Linked DNA regions of Homo sapiens: all the other regions are linked to region 3. The links are contacts of gene promoters, found by promoter capture Hi-C in blood cells and fetal thymus (Javierre and others, 2016). All regions are on one chromosome and are shown on one strand. The core of a region is centred on a gene start or on the middle of the fragment in contact, and the rest is flanking DNA. Distances in the headings are between cores, read along the strand shown. Region 1 holds the start of FMNL3 (formin like 3). Region 2 holds the start of NCKAP5L (NCK associated protein 5 like). Region 3 holds the start of DHH (desert hedgehog signaling molecule).

What was found. The method cuts DNA at HindIII sites, captures the fragments that hold promoters and counts their contacts. A CHiCAGO score of 5 or more calls a contact.
Region 1: a contact is called between the fragment with the promoter of FMNL3 here and the fragment with the promoter of DHH in region 3, in 8 of 17 cell types (total CD4 T cells, non-activated CD4 T cells, naive CD8 T cells and 5 more). The highest score is 7.6, in total CD4 T cells.
Region 2: a contact is called between the fragment with the promoter of NCKAP5L here and the fragment with the promoter of DHH in region 3, in 4 of 17 cell types (neutrophils, total B cells, monocytes and 1 more). The highest score is 6.6, in neutrophils.

The regions. Positions count from the first base shown.
Region 1 is chr12:49,704,080-49,708,985 of GRCh38, reverse strand. FMNL3 (formin like 3) reads left to right here and starts at 1,581. Exons shown (of 26, transcript NM_175736.5): 1 at 1,581-1,931. The coding sequence starts at 1,806. LOC124902929 (a long non-coding RNA gene) reads right to left here and starts at 1,260. Exons shown (of 3, transcript XR_007063299.1): 1 at 1,147-1,260. RefSeq lists enhancers at 998-1,147, 4,871-4,906 and a silencer at 1,168-1,937. The HindIII fragment of the contact is 3,771 bases long and covers 949-4,719 here.
Region 2 is chr12:49,827,142-49,831,422 of GRCh38, reverse strand. NCKAP5L (NCK associated protein 5 like) reads left to right here and starts at 3,010. Exons shown (of 13, transcript NM_001037806.4): 1 at 3,010-3,101. It overlaps BCDIN3D-AS1 (BCDIN3D antisense RNA 1), which reads right to left and starts at 2,880. Exons shown (of 3, transcript NR_027501.1): 1 at 2,679-2,880; 2 at 2,340-2,488. RefSeq lists enhancers at 1,979-2,557, 2,558-3,136, 3,552-3,601 and a silencer at 2,882-3,291. The HindIII fragment of the contact is 6,034 bases long and covers 1-4,281 here.
Region 3 is chr12:49,092,135-49,097,056 of GRCh38, reverse strand. DHH (desert hedgehog signaling molecule) reads left to right here and starts at 2,256. Exons shown (of 3, transcript NM_021044.4): 1 at 2,256-2,847. The coding sequence starts at 2,545. DHH-AS1 (DHH antisense RNA 1) reads right to left here. Exons shown (of 4, transcript XR_007063295.1): 1 at 4,715-4,922; 2 at 4,152-4,227; 3 at 2,869-2,935; 4 at 1,313-1,656. RefSeq lists a cis regulatory region at 4,302-4,319 and an enhancer at 4,239-4,383. The HindIII fragment of the contact is 10,631 bases long and covers 2,032-4,922 here.

The DNA.
Region 1 (4,906 bases), core at 332-2,831, 610 kb before region 3:
AACAGCTGTGTTTATTTATTTATTGAGACAGAGCCTCACCCTGTCACCCAGGCTAGAGTGGAGTGCCATGAACATGGCTCACTACAGCCTCAACCTCCTAGTTTCAATTGATCCTCCTGCCTCAGCCTCCCAAGTAAGCAACTCTATTTAAAATCTTAATGCCTCTTCCATCTCTATCACCTTTCAGTTTTATTTTTATTAACACTGATCACTAACATCTATACATTTTACTCGTCTAGTTTATTGTCTACCTTTCCTTCTACACAGATTGTGAATTCCAAGAGGACACAATGTATATCCTGTTTGTTCGCAGATGTACCTTCAATGCCCAGAATAGTATCTGGCATAGAATAAACTTTCTAAAATAAATATTTGTTGAATAAATGAATTAAAAATCTAGGTGATAACTTCAGGCATGGTTAGATCCAGGTTCTTGGCATGTCATTAGAATTTTGTCCTGTCTCATAGCTTTTCTCTCCTCTGCGCTGGCTTCATTCTCAAGCAGGCTTGATGTGTTACAGGTGATGATAAGACGGCCACCAGCGGCTGCAGGTTTACATTCTAATAATTTTGCAGCCTAAATGGAGAGAGAGTGAGTGCCTCTTTCCTGATTGTTTCAGAGAAAGCCTTGGATATATCATATTGTCTGGGCTTGGGTCAAGTGACAATCCCTAAAACAGTGTCCATGGGTAGAGGAGGAAAATGTTGTGACTGACTGGGCCTGGGTCATGCGGTCCTTTGGAACTGGGGATAAAATTCAGCTCCATTTAGACTGAGAAGAGGGGAGAGGTGGTTTCCTAAAAGAAAAGGGGGTGCTCTCACTGGAAGAAGATGGCGGCTAGACAACAAATTTCCACCGCAAATGTCAACGACCCAGCCGCCGACTGAGCCCAGAACAGCGTTCTTCTCCCGCCTCTCCATTTTCACACGCAGCCAGATGGTTAAGCTTCTCTCCTCCCAAACGTTTTTTCCCCTGCCTCTGTCGGGTAAGGGCTTCCTCATCCCTCAATGCCTGGTCCAACTATGATCTCCCTCACCCCGACTCTTAACAGGTACTATCTCTCTCCCTCTTCTGAGTATCCTGCTTGTTTCTACTTCTCTTGTAGTTAGTTTTGTACGCCATGCCTTGTATAATATTTTACTTACTTGTATACATCATGAGTTCCTTTTGAAAAAGGGTACGGTCCATTCCCGGTGTGTCCACGCCAGCCCCTCACGCCCTCTGGGAACCGCGGTGATTCGATGCCGGCTGAGGCCGCCAGGGAGCGCTCGGCGCCCGGCACGAGGCCGTCAAGGGCGGGAGGCGCTGTGATTGGCAGACGCGGCCGTCAATCGGGCGCAGGTGGGGCGGGCCGGGCCGCCTGTGAGGCCTCTGGGCGGGAGGCGGGGCCTGCATGAATGGGGCGCGCGTCGCGCGGGCTGCAGTCGGCGCTCGCGGGGGAAGCCCGAGTCTCGGCCGGGTGTGGGTGGGAGGAAGCGAGGTTGGCGGGGGAAGGGAAAGAGCGCGGGGGGCGGGGAGGGGCAGCGCCCGGGCGGCGCGCCGAGCGCGGCGAGGCGGCGGGTGTGAGCAAGAGCCGGCCGCCTCCGTCCGCCTTGCTTCGGTGCGGCTGTCCGCTACGCTGCCTCCGCCCTCGCCGCGCGCCCCCGCCAGCGGGACTCCAGGGAACCCCCGGCGCCCTCGACGGGGCCGAGGAGTCGGGACTCGGGGAGCCGGCGCTGAGGGAGGAGCCTGGTCGGAGCCGCGGAGCCGAAAGCTCCGGAGCGTGGAGGTGGGGGGCCGAGGCCCCTGAGGGGGCCCCGCCGCGATGGGCAACCTGGAGAGCGCCGAGGGGGTCCCGGGAGAGCCCCCCTCTGTCCCGTTGTTGCTGCCGCCCGGCAAGATGCCGATGCCTGAGCCCTGTGAGCTGGAGGAAAGGTTCGCCCTGGTGCTGGTGAGAGCTGAGCCCAGCCCCTTCCCCCGCGTACCGCCCCTCAGGTCCCGACGCCCGGGCTGGGACTTTGTGCTGGGCCCCCGTCCCGCCCACCCTTTCAGTCGGGGTCCCGAACGGATCCCGGCCTCCAGTGTCTTCCCAGGAACCTCTGAGCAGCCGCTGGCCGGCCCGGACAGCCCCGTCGGGGATCTCGGGACCGACGCCTCCACCGCTGGACCCTTAGGAGAAGTCCCCAGTTCGGGACCGTCCTAGGAACCAGGCTTCTCCCTCCTTCTTCCTCCCCCTTCTGCTGCCCTTTTCCCGTTTCCCCGCTTCTTCGCCAGGCTCCCCGTCCCTAGCATTCTCAGCCCGGAGCCTCTCGCGGGTGGGGGGAATTCAGAAGCGCGGCCGGCTCGCTCCTCAGCAGGCTTCCCTGAGTGGGGACACCGCCTCTCCTGCGAACATGGAGGCTTCCCAGGGAGTGGGTCCCACTCCCAGCCCAGACCAGATGTTTGGGGGGAGAGGGGGATGGGGAGGCGGCTGGCAGCTCCTGAAGGGGGTGGAATAAAGAGTATGCCATTCTGCTTATTTTCAGAACGGCCTGCAGGCATCCTGCTAAGTTAGAGTGGATTTGCCTGAAAGGCTGAACATGTGGATAAACCATTTCACTGGGGTATTTCTCCAAGTGAAACAATACACAAACCATCCCGCCTCCTCCCCCCCTTTTCACGTTAAGCCATAGTGACTGGTTTGTGTTGTTTAGCCTGTGCTTTTTAGTCTTTCTGTGGGTTTCAAACGGTCTGTATAAATGGGTTTTTAGAGCTGACTTTGGGATTCTTCTTTGGTGTGGGAATTGGACATTGATGTCAGTGGCTCTATGAAGCGAGAGGTTCTGAGCTGGTATCACCGGGAAGGAGCCAGAAAATATGTTTGCGCTGAAAATGAAGTTTTGCAGAGCGAAAACATTGGTAAACCGGGGTTAATCTTTGAGAAATTTGGGGAAATAGTTCTCACTTCCCCAAAGAGTTTTCTAAGAAGCAGTAATAATTCTGGCGTTATTGTTGGTATGGCCGACTCTGCCTTTGCCTCTGCCCATCAGGAGGGATAAGTTGTGGACTTAGCAGCCTTATTGGATTTCATCTGCCTTGGAATAAGGAGATTAGATCTGTTGGCAACAGTGGAGCTGTCTAGAGATCTTGGCCTCTCCGATGGTAGAGAATCTGACATCAGCCCACTGGCACCAGAGCTGGCTCAAAGAGGGTCCACAGTGTTCCAAGGGGAAGTGGTGTCGCTGGCACCTCTCTGCCCGCCAGCTCTGCGAAGGGCCAAAGGGATGTGGGCCATACATCCTGTGGCCCTCTGCATTTCCCCCAGCCTCCTCGGGGGATCGGGTGAGTCAGTGATTACCAATGTGCTGTGACCATCTCACAGGCTGAGGAGGAGAGACTGGGACTTAGTGGCCTTGAGAACAAGAGCCCAACTGTTGGGGAAAAGAGTGGGAGGGGATCTGCACTCTGGTGGGGGTGTGAAAATCCCCAGCAAGCTGACACAAGTTAGCTATAGAAACTGGGGAGAAAGGGATGGGGTGAGGTGGATTGGGTGGGAGGCTGCCTTAGGTGGGAGCTGCCAGGCCATTTTTTGTGAGAGCTCAGAACCAGAATCCATCATGTTCTCATTGGCCCTTGGTTGACCATTTCGTTTAGTTAGCAAACTAATGGCTTAATATTCACAAAATGCACGTGATGTCCTAGTTAACCAGGACACCAGAGCACCAGGAGAACCCAGGTCAAATGGGGGACTGGACCACCCACTTGCATGCCTTCCTTTCTGTATAAAATTTTGATTTGTTTCCTCATGCCTTTTGTTTTGGTCTTGTTTCTGTGTGCCTGAGCTGCTGCTGATGAAGGGTTGGAACAGGGCAGGCCAGAGCTAGTTAGTTGTCTCAGGAGACGGGATTTCACCTCAGTTTTCCAATACAGGGAAATCATCCCTTCTTGGGGATTTGAGTTCTTCTCTGGGGGCTCTTAAGTGTCCCTGTGTCCACTGTTCTGAAAGGTACCCTTTCTACCATGCTTTGGGAACAGTACTGACTGAGTCAGGTGTTTGACCCAGGTACAGGCTTAGGGGTATTTCCTGAACAGTCAGGAGAAGCATAGTGTAGTAGAAAAATCAAGGACTCTGGCTTAGCAAGTATCTTAACTTCTCTGAGCCTAGACTTCTTCCTCATCTGTAAAATGGAGGTAATCCTGTTCTGGTGAGATTGTGAGAATTAGGTGAGCCCCTGTATATAAGGTGCTTGGCACCCAGTAAGTACTCAATATAGATTATAGATTAGCTTCTTTTTTTTTTTTTTTTTTTTTTTTTTGAGATGGAGTTTGGCTCTGTCATCCAGGCTGGAGTGCGGCAGCACGATCTCAGCTCACTGCAAACTCAGCCTCCCGGGTTCAAGCAGTTCTCCTGCTTCAGCCTCCCCAGTAGCTGGGATTACAGGCGCGTGCCACTAAGCCTGGCTAATTTTTGTGTTTTTAGTAGAGATGGGGTTTCGCCATGTTGGCCAGGCTGGTCTCGAACTCCTGACCTCAGGTGATCCACCCGCCTTGGCCTCCCAAAGTGCTGGGATTACAGGCATGAGCCACTGTGCCTGGCCAGATTAGCTTATTTTTGTTGATGGTGTGAAACAGTCAGATAAACTGTTCCTTTCTCACCTTTTTCTTTCCTAGATTGTCAGCTTCATTATAATTGGTTAGGTTTTTTGAAAAAGCTATTTGGGAGGTTTGTTGAGGTGACATAGTGGTGTCCTGGTTAAGCTTATGGACTTTGAAGTCAGAGTGGATTCAACTGTTTCATCCATAGTCTTTGGTTAGAAGAGTGTTTGACCTCAAGCAAGTTACTTAATCTGATTCCCAGTCTTCTCTTATACATGGGGATAATAATAGCATTTGCCACATGAGGTTGTTGTGTGGATTTAATGAAATTGGAAGTCAAATACTTAGCAG
Region 2 (4,281 bases), core at 1,761-4,260, 730 kb before region 3:
CTTTCAACCCCTGTCAGTGAGGATGAAGGTTTGTGAAGCATAGAGAATCTGCCAAAATCTGAATGCTGAAATTATCAAGTGCACAATAGCCTTTAAGGAAGGAGAGAGCCAGGTACTTGCTCTGACAAATACAGATGTTCTGGCTGTTTATTAAACAAGAGTAAACATCTAAATGAAAAGTAAAATATTGGCTGGGCACAGAGGCTCACACCTGTAATCCCAGCACTTTGGGAGGCTGAAGTGGGCAGATCACTTGAGGTCAGGAGTTCAAGACCAGCCTGGACAACTTGGTGAAACCTCATTTCTACTAAAAATACAAAAATTAGCTGGGTGTGGTGGCGCACGCCTGTAATCTCAGCTACTTGGGAGGGTGAGGCAGGAGAATTGCTTGAGAATTGCAAGAGGCAAGAGAATTGCCTCTTGGAAGGCAGACCTTGCAGTGAGCCGAGATTGTGCTGCTACACTCCAGTCTGGGTGACAGAGCAAGACTCTGTCTCAAAAAAAAAAAAAAAAAAAAGGAAAGTAAATTATCATCTTGATGTTCTGTTTACTTCCAATAATTCAGTTATTTGGAAACATCCAAAAGTAGTTAGAAATGCCTGGCAGACTTTTAAGGTTTTCTACCTCAAGGCAGAATTAGGAATACAAGGCAATATTAGGAATACAACAGGTACATGGAGTTTTATTGGACTTTCAAGCCCTTTGAGGAAAGGACCATGTCTACTTTTTGTTGTAATCCCAGAACTAGCCCACTGATCCCTATTCAATGTTAGATGATTGAATAAGAATTCACAATGCTGTAGGCTTCCGAAGATGCCACTATCATCAAGAAATAAGGTGAAAAGGAGAAATGAAAACATGTCTATGAAAATATTTGCACCAGAATGTTAATAGCAGCCATATTCATCATAACCCCAACTGGAAATACCCAAATATCCATCAATTGAAGAATGGATAAACACATTGTGATATATTCATGCAATGGAATAATACTCAGCAATAAAAAAGAACAGATTACTGATACACATGGATGGATCTCAAAAACATTACTAAGCTAAAGGATACAGACACAAGTACATACTGTAAAGCTCCATATATGTGAAATACAAATGCAGACAAATCTATGGTGCTATAATTCAGGAAGTTGCCAGGGGAGGGTGGTGGTGGGTGTGGGGTGATCAACTATAAAGGGGCATGAGGGAACTTTATAGGGTGGTGGTTCAGTATCTTGTTTTGGGTGTTAATTACATAGGTGTATATTTTGAAATTCACCAAACAAAGCACCTAAGATGTGTGCATTTTATTGCACGTTAAGAATAATTTAAGGGCCGGGCATGGTGGCTCACATCTATAATCCTAGCACTTTGGGAGGCCGAGGTGGGCAAATCACCTGAGGTCAGGAGTTCGAGACCAGCCTGGCCAACATGGTGAAGCCTCCGTCTCTACTAAAAATACAAAAATTAGCCAGGTGTGGTGGTGCACTCTTATAATACCAGCTACTTGGGAGGCTGAGGCAGGAGAATCACCTGAAATCAGGAGGTGGAGGTTGCAGTGAGCAGAGATTGTGCCACTGCACTCCGTCCAACCTGGGACAGAGTGAGACTCCATCTCAGAGAAAAGAAAAGAATAAAATATTTTTTAAGCAAAAAAATGAGAAAGCTGGTGGGGGTACCCATCAAGACATCTTTTAGGTTCCAGTAATAGCTGTCCTTGGGCACTCTTTTCATCAAACTACCTCTATGCTCAAGAACCCAAAATGACTTCTTTATCTTATGTCTTGTCACATCCATATCCTTATTCTGCTCTCCTCCATAAGAAACCTCCTCCATTAATTTCTCCCACTTCCCAACGTACCACGGTGATCTGCTCACGGTCCCACGCAGATAATTTGCTCTTTCCTATCTGAATCTCCTTGTGGCCTTTACCCTGCCTGGACCCTACTCAAGCTCTCTCTGCCCTTCAAATTCCGTATTTAAATAAACCTCCTTCAGAAAAGAACTCTTAATCCTAGCCAATCTGAGCACCCTAACTTGCCTTACTTTTTATGTTCCTTTATTGGACTAATATGATACTCTAAGCTGCATCCTTTGTATACTCGCAACAAAAGAAATTTTAATGAAGTAGGCGGAGACTGTACCTAGGGATTCCTTCGTATTTCCCTGCAGAACCCAGGTGAGAACCTACATTTCTGGGGCAGTCACTACAATGCAGGCTGTGAGGGTTATACGGTATTTAGGCAAGGGCAAATAGGTGTTTAATTAAGGACTAATGGGAATGATATTGAAGCTCTGAGGCTCTGCAGGGGCCTGGATGGGCTGTTTGCTTTTCCTCATCCTCACCGAGATAGCAAGTGGTTGAGAACAAGGTTGCATCCTTTTTCTGCCCAGCCTTCCCCGCAAACCAGTGAGGAAACGACCAGCACTGCCGTCTGATGAGAGGAGCCTGTTGCTGTAACTGTTTTCCAGATTACTGGGGGGACGACCCCATCCTGGAGAAGGAAGAGAGAGGCGGGAGCATTTAAGGCCAAAGAGGCACTCAAGCCTTTCCCCCATGGATTTACACCCAACACGTATGCAGAAAAGCAAATTACAAACACCGACGCTCACAACCACACATACACGTGCACGCCCAGCCCCACAGAAGCAAACGCGCATGCCTGTGGGCCCGCGCGCACCTACTTAGTTTTCTCTGTTCTAGACGCCCTCATTCCACCCCCGCTCGGCCCAGCCCGGCGTCCTCTACCCAGGCACGGCTGAGGTTTACCAAGCCCGGCCCGGCCTGGAGAAAGTGTTTCTATAAGGGGGAAGGGAGGTCCTTCCCACCAAAGCGGAAGCGGCGCGCGCCGGCCGGGCAGACTTAGCTCGCGTCCTGGGAACATCTGGAGGGGGCTGGGAGGGGCGCGCATCCAGGCTGAACGTGGATTGGCTGCTAGGGAGGAGGGAGGCGGGGTCAGGGCCAGGGGCGGGGCTCCCCGGCCCCTTTAAAGCCTTGACATCAGGAGGCGGCTCCGGCACCCCCCTTTCTCTGCCCCCCGCCCCCAAGCCGCGGCCATGGACCTGGCGGATCCGGCCTGCCCTGGCCCAGCTCAACACCTGATTTCGGTGAGTTCTGGGTCTACTTGGGATTGAAAGGGCGGCGAGTGCGGGGGGGCGATCTGTAGCTCCGGGCCGGGGGGAGTGGGGTGTGGAGGGTAAGGCTCTCGTGGCAGTACAGAGTCGGAGAGGGCGTCGCGGCTTCCTGCCCAAACCCTGCTGCCCGCCCCTCCGTCCCTCCCTCCAGCCGCACCCTCCTCGGGGGTCCGGCTGCGACTCTGTGCACCCCCACCCCACCCCCTCCCGCCCCCCGCGCCATCCTCGCGCACACTCCGTGGCCCCGGAAGGGAAACTTTCGGGAGTGGGGGATGTTCCGGGGGCCGGGCTCCCCTCCCTCTTTGAAAGCACTGACCTTGCCCCAGCTGCTCACCCCACCCAACCCGCATCCCACCGTCCGGGTGCCGCTTAGCGGTGCCGGGTTATTGCGGGGGGAGGGGCTCTCTCCCCAAAGCGCAGGCGCGGAGACGAGCCTGGGGCTCCCTTTCGCACTCCTTCCCATTCCCCGTGGCCTGGGGCGGTAGGGCCTGGGGAAGGCGGGGAGAGGCGGAAAGACCGGGTCTCCTAGAGAACAGCCCCTTCAAAGGCTTTGAGGGGCTGCGGGAAGGAGGAAGGACCTGGTGGGCTGCACGCTGAAGAGAAGCTAAGGGAGGGAGAAGGGTTGGTTGGGCAGGGAGCAGGGACAGGGCAGCGTCTGCAGAAAAGGCCCTCTGGGTGCTGGCTGCGGTGCCAGAAGAATGCAGAGAATTCATCTGTGCCCGACGCTTCCCTGGCTTAGCCCAACTAAGAAAGCGGCTGCCCGGATCCTAGCTCCCCTCTCCCTGTCCTGGGCCCAAGGTCCCGCGTTATCTCCAGTCCTGGCACGGCCCCAAGGGCACAGAGGGCCCTCACCTCCCACAGGCCTGGTTTTCCAGGCATCCCAGGGCTGGATCAGCTGAGTCCACTTAGTCTGTCCAGCTGCTACTTCTTAAAGGCCTGCCTTGCTGAGGAGCTGGGGGTCTTGGGCTAAGGAGTTCTCTGGCTGTAGAGGCAATCCCTCCCTCCCACTTCTCCGCGTCTGTCATGGGTCCTCCTTCTTAAGCACAATGGTCAGCCAGAGGAAGTGGCCCGGGCAGGGGTGGCCTGGGGAGCAGTAGAAAGAGTGTCAATGCCTTACCGTTTTGTGGTCAGTACTTTCGGGGAAAATGAACAT
Region 3 (4,922 bases), core at 1,007-3,506:
CCACCATCCTTTTCCTTCCCCTTCATCTATATTATTACCATCCTTTGGGGACTTGGATCTGGTGTTAGGCCATGCAGTTGGGCAGTGGGAAACTCCTCCATCCTCAGTCTTGCTTAAAGCTGGCTTGTCCCCTGACTCCTCCTTATATTCATGGCCTTGTTTCTGTACCTTGAGTATTGGGGGTAGGACATGGGCATAGGAGTAGGCTAACCTCCCCGATACACTCATACCTTCAGCCCTATCCTCCCTGGCTTAACTATTGGATATAGAGTAAAATAAGTGGCTGGCTGACAAGGATTTTCATTTCCTACCTGAGAGAAGAATCTAGCTTTTTACTAGAGGCCATCAGTTTCTTGAAAAGCCCATGTGCTATGTTGGGAGTAAGAGCGCAAAACTTAGGCTTATACAGATTGTGTATTGCACAGCTTCCAGGGACACCATTCACCTCATAGTCATTGTGTGGATAGTTACTATGATAGTTTTCTAATAAATGTCAGTCATCTTGAGGAAGGGGTGCTTTTTTTTTCTTTTTTCTTCTTCTTTTTTTTTTTTTTTTTTTTGTGAGACAAGGTCTGGCTCTATCACCCTGGCTGGAGTGCAGTGGTGCAATCTCAGCTCACTGCAACCTCCGCATTCTGGGCTCAAGCCATTCTTCCAGCTCAGGCTCCAGAATAGCTAGGACAACAGACACATGCTACCATGCCTGGCTAATTTTTGTATTTTTAGTAGAGATGGGGTTTTGCCATGTTGCCTGGGCTGGTCTTGAACTCCTGAGCTCAAGTGATCCACCTACCTTGGACTCCCCAAATGATGGAATTACAGGGGTTAGCCACAACACCCAGCCATCTTTTTTTTGGGGGGGGGGGTCCTCACTCTGTCACCCAGGTTAGAGTGCAGTGGCATGATCTTAGCTCACTCTACAGCCTTGAACTCTTGCACCCAAGTGATCCTCCTTCCTCAGCCTCCTGAGTACCTAAGACTACAGGCATGTACCACTACCTCCCACTAATTAATTTTTTTTTTTTGAAACGGGGTGTCACTATGTTGACCAAGTTGGTCTTCAACTCATGGCCTCAAGCAGTCCTTGCCTCGCCCCCAAAGTGTTGGGATTACAGGAGTGAGCCACTGTGCCTGGCCTGGTTTTTTCTGATGTACACAAAGTTGCTATGAGTACTAGCCATAGAGTGTGGTGAGGGGAGGGTGAATATGAAACACAAAGTGTAGATTCCACAAATGCTTGCAAAGCACCCTTCTGTAGAGTAGGCACTTAACCTTGGAGATACATGATAAATATGTGTGTGCTTAAGATTGCTTTGTCTAGTAAGGTGCCAGATAATTCTAATACTGTTCTAACACTGCAGTTAAGTAATGGTTCTCGAGGGAACACAGGTGGGCAGTGTTGGGACATCAAGGAAGGCTTCTTAGAAGAAATGACTTCTAAACAAAAGAAATTGGACGTGGTGCCTCTGAGATGAGATCTGAGTGGCTGAAAATGGAGCCCCGGGAGTCCAGAGAGGGAGAAAGCTGGAGAGGTGCCTAGATGGACGGTTAAGGGAAGTGATCCTCACCTCTTACAAAGACTTTTGAGTGTCCACTGCCCTTCAGCAGCTTCCAACTGAGAAGTCATTCATTTGAAAAACAGCAGCTATTAGATGCCTGGCAAAGAAGAGAAGGGGAAAAAAGTTGGAAGTCCTAAATGAGACAATAAGTACCAAGCTCTGTTCCTGGTTCTGGGGAAGTTCCAAAGGAGACTGCAAAGTTAGTAGAGAAATGGGCCCCTGGTATCCTCACCTCCCAGTCCTGCTTAATGCTGAATGTGAGGAGAGATGGAAGTCGGGGAGATCTGGGGAGGACTACAGAGAAGGGAGGCTCTGGTTGTATGCCCAAAGGGCTTGGCTGGTCTTGGGCAGAAATTGGAACCCATACTTCCTGGATGACAGCGGAGGGCATGGCCTGCCAGGGTAGGCTTTGAGAGAGTAAAAATTCCAATTCAAGTATCAGAGGAGGGTGGTTTGGTTCCAAGTTTAAGCTTGGAGGTAGAAGGATGTTTAGGCAGCCAAGGACTGTAAAGCTACAAGTATTTCCTAGGCAGGTGTCTGCCTGGTTTCCAGGATGGGACACACTTCAGTCGCAAAATGGACCAGCAGTGACCGGCTAGATCCCCCGCCCGGGTGGGAGGGGGTGGGACGGTCTTGGGAGAAGGGCGGAGGGCGGGGCCAGGGGCCACTTAAGGCGGAGTCCGGAGTCCGGGCGTTCTGGCAGCACCAGAGTCCTGCAGCAGAGACGGGCTGGGCTGGCACTCACCCACGACCCCCCTTCCCTGCTATGATGGTTTGTCAGTAGCAGGTCCTAGACACCCCCCGCCCGCTCCCGGGGCACGTGGGCAGAGCTAGCAGCAGCCAGGTGCACGGAGCCACAAGAGCTCTAGGGCACTCTGGGGGCAGCTGTGCCTGCTGCCCTCTCTGGTGCCTGTGGAGATGCCTAACTGACAGGAGAGTTAGTGAGGACAAGAACGCTCCCTTTTGGCCGAGGTCCGCTGTATCCATGGCTCTCCTGACCAATCTACTGCCCCTGTGCTGCTTGGCACTTCTGGCGCTGCCAGCCCAGAGCTGCGGGCCGGGCCGGGGGCCGGTTGGCCGGCGCCGCTATGCGCGCAAGCAGCTCGTGCCGCTACTCTACAAGCAATTTGTGCCCGGCGTGCCAGAGCGGACCCTGGGCGCCAGTGGGCCAGCGGAGGGGAGGGTGGCAAGGGGCTCCGAGCGCTTCCGGGACCTCGTGCCCAACTACAACCCCGACATCATCTTCAAGGATGAGGAGAACAGTGGAGCCGACCGCCTGATGACCGAGGTAAGGAGGGCCTCTCCCTACCTGCGCCGGGGCACTGCCAGCTCCTCCGTTTTCCTATGGCAGCCCAGGTGGGTGAGTCCAGCTTCACCTACAGAGAGTTTAGCCTTAGAGATTTCCCTTGTCACCAGCCCCAGGGGGGGGAAAAATCCTTGCAGTCTGGACAGAGTAATTAGGACGGCTCCCGACTAGAATAGTCTGGGATGGGGAGGGGAGGAGGGACTGACTAGTGAGAGTGAAGCTGGTAGAGGCAGCGAGGGCGGGGAAAGGAGGATGGCGGCAGGCGAGACGGGAAATGGCTGAGGCGTGGACCGGGGGTCAGCCACCCAGCCAGGCAGGAAGGGCTGGGGTGAGCTGGGGGCCAGGAGCTGGCTAGGTAGCAGACAGAAGCCTGGCTCCTGACCTGATTGTAGAAAAGCTCTGTGGGCCGAAAAGAAGAGACTGAAAAGGGCTGGGACAGGGGTGGCCAAGGGTCAGGTCACCAGACCATCTACCTGAGGAGGGGCTGGGCAGACATTGCTTTTGGCATGGGAAACGTGTCCTAGAACCAGGACACATCTATTCTAGGGTCTATTCTAGGGCTATCCTAGGGTCTAAACGATAATCTTGGGGTTAAAAAGTAATCCTCAGTGAGAATAACAGATGGACCCACCTGAGAATCAGAGGGCTCCTAAGTCTTCCAAGCTCTGCCTATCTCAGGGGCTTTCCTTGGAATTACATAATTAGGATAAATTCAACTACCATTTTTGAGCATTGGAACCACCTAGAGTGAGGTGGAAGAGAAGGACCACCTCTGGCGAGTGATTTATTTTTTATTTTTTGTAGAGACGGGGTCTTGCCATGTTGCCTAGGCTAGTCTTGAACTCCTGAGCTCAAGGGATCCTCCCACCTCGGCCTCCCAAAGTGCTGGATTACAGGTGTGAGCCACTTCATCCAGCCTGGCCAGTGATCTTGAATGTTAGAACTGAAAGAAAACTTGAGAGATGACATTCCTCCAACCCTCCCCACCCCCACTGCCACCCTCATTTTACATCTGAGAGCTGGACTTCCCCCAGGAGGAAAAGCAATTTAAACTCTCACAATTTAAAGTGGCATGGCTGGGACTAGAATTCAGGACTCCTGATTCTAAGCCCTATATACTTTCCATTACACCACCTAATTGTGTATGGAGTGGGGAGGTGGGGGGAGAGGGAGGGGTACGGATTTCCTCTGATTAATTGCCATAGTTTTCCAGGTTACTTTGTTAGGAAAACCTGTCCAGGGAAGAAATAATTCCTTTTGCTTCTGCCCTGAAGCCTTCCTCCTACCTAGAGATGGGAAAAGGGGCATTCCTTCTTTCCTCCTTGGCCGTGGAACATTGTGGCCCTTTCCTCTGGTTGCCACCTGCAGCAGAGTGGGCAGAACAAGGGACAGGCTCAGGAGGGGCTCCGGCAGGCCTGGGAGCCCCCTCAGTCTTACTTATCTCCCACACCCTGGCTGCAAAAGGCCTCCATTGAGTTGGCTCTGCACTGGGCTGCTGCCCCCGCAGGTCAGGGCCTCGGGGCCTCCTTAGGGGACGAAACGACAAAGTTGGAAGGAGCTACCACTTTTCCTGTTTTCCCCCCACCCAACCCCAACTCTGCGGGGTGGAGGAGACTAGAGGAGAGGGGAAAAGTGTCTTTCTGTTAGGAGAAAACCAAGTCCGAGGTGAGAGGTCGGAGGGGAAAGAAAAAAAGGAAGCTGTCCCTCTGCGCCTCCTCCCGCGGTGTCCCTGCTATGGTGCGCGCCAAGGTCTCCCGCTCCCAGGCTGGAGCGGCCAAGATAACTGTGGTCTCACTCCCCCAGGTGCAGGCTTCCAGCCGCAGCTTCTTTTCCTCTTCTCCGCTCTCACCCTGCAGGGGGCTCCCCAGATCCGCACAAGGAGACCGTTATTCTCAGGTGCTACTCCCACGCCCTTCTGGGCTGCATCTAGAGCAGAGATGGGAGAGATAGGGGCTCTCCGGACTGGCAGAGCCTTAGCTGGAACTGGGAAGACTGGACGCGCGGGGGGAGGGGACCTACCCGGACGGAGCAGGGATTGGGGGCGCGGCTTTCTGCCC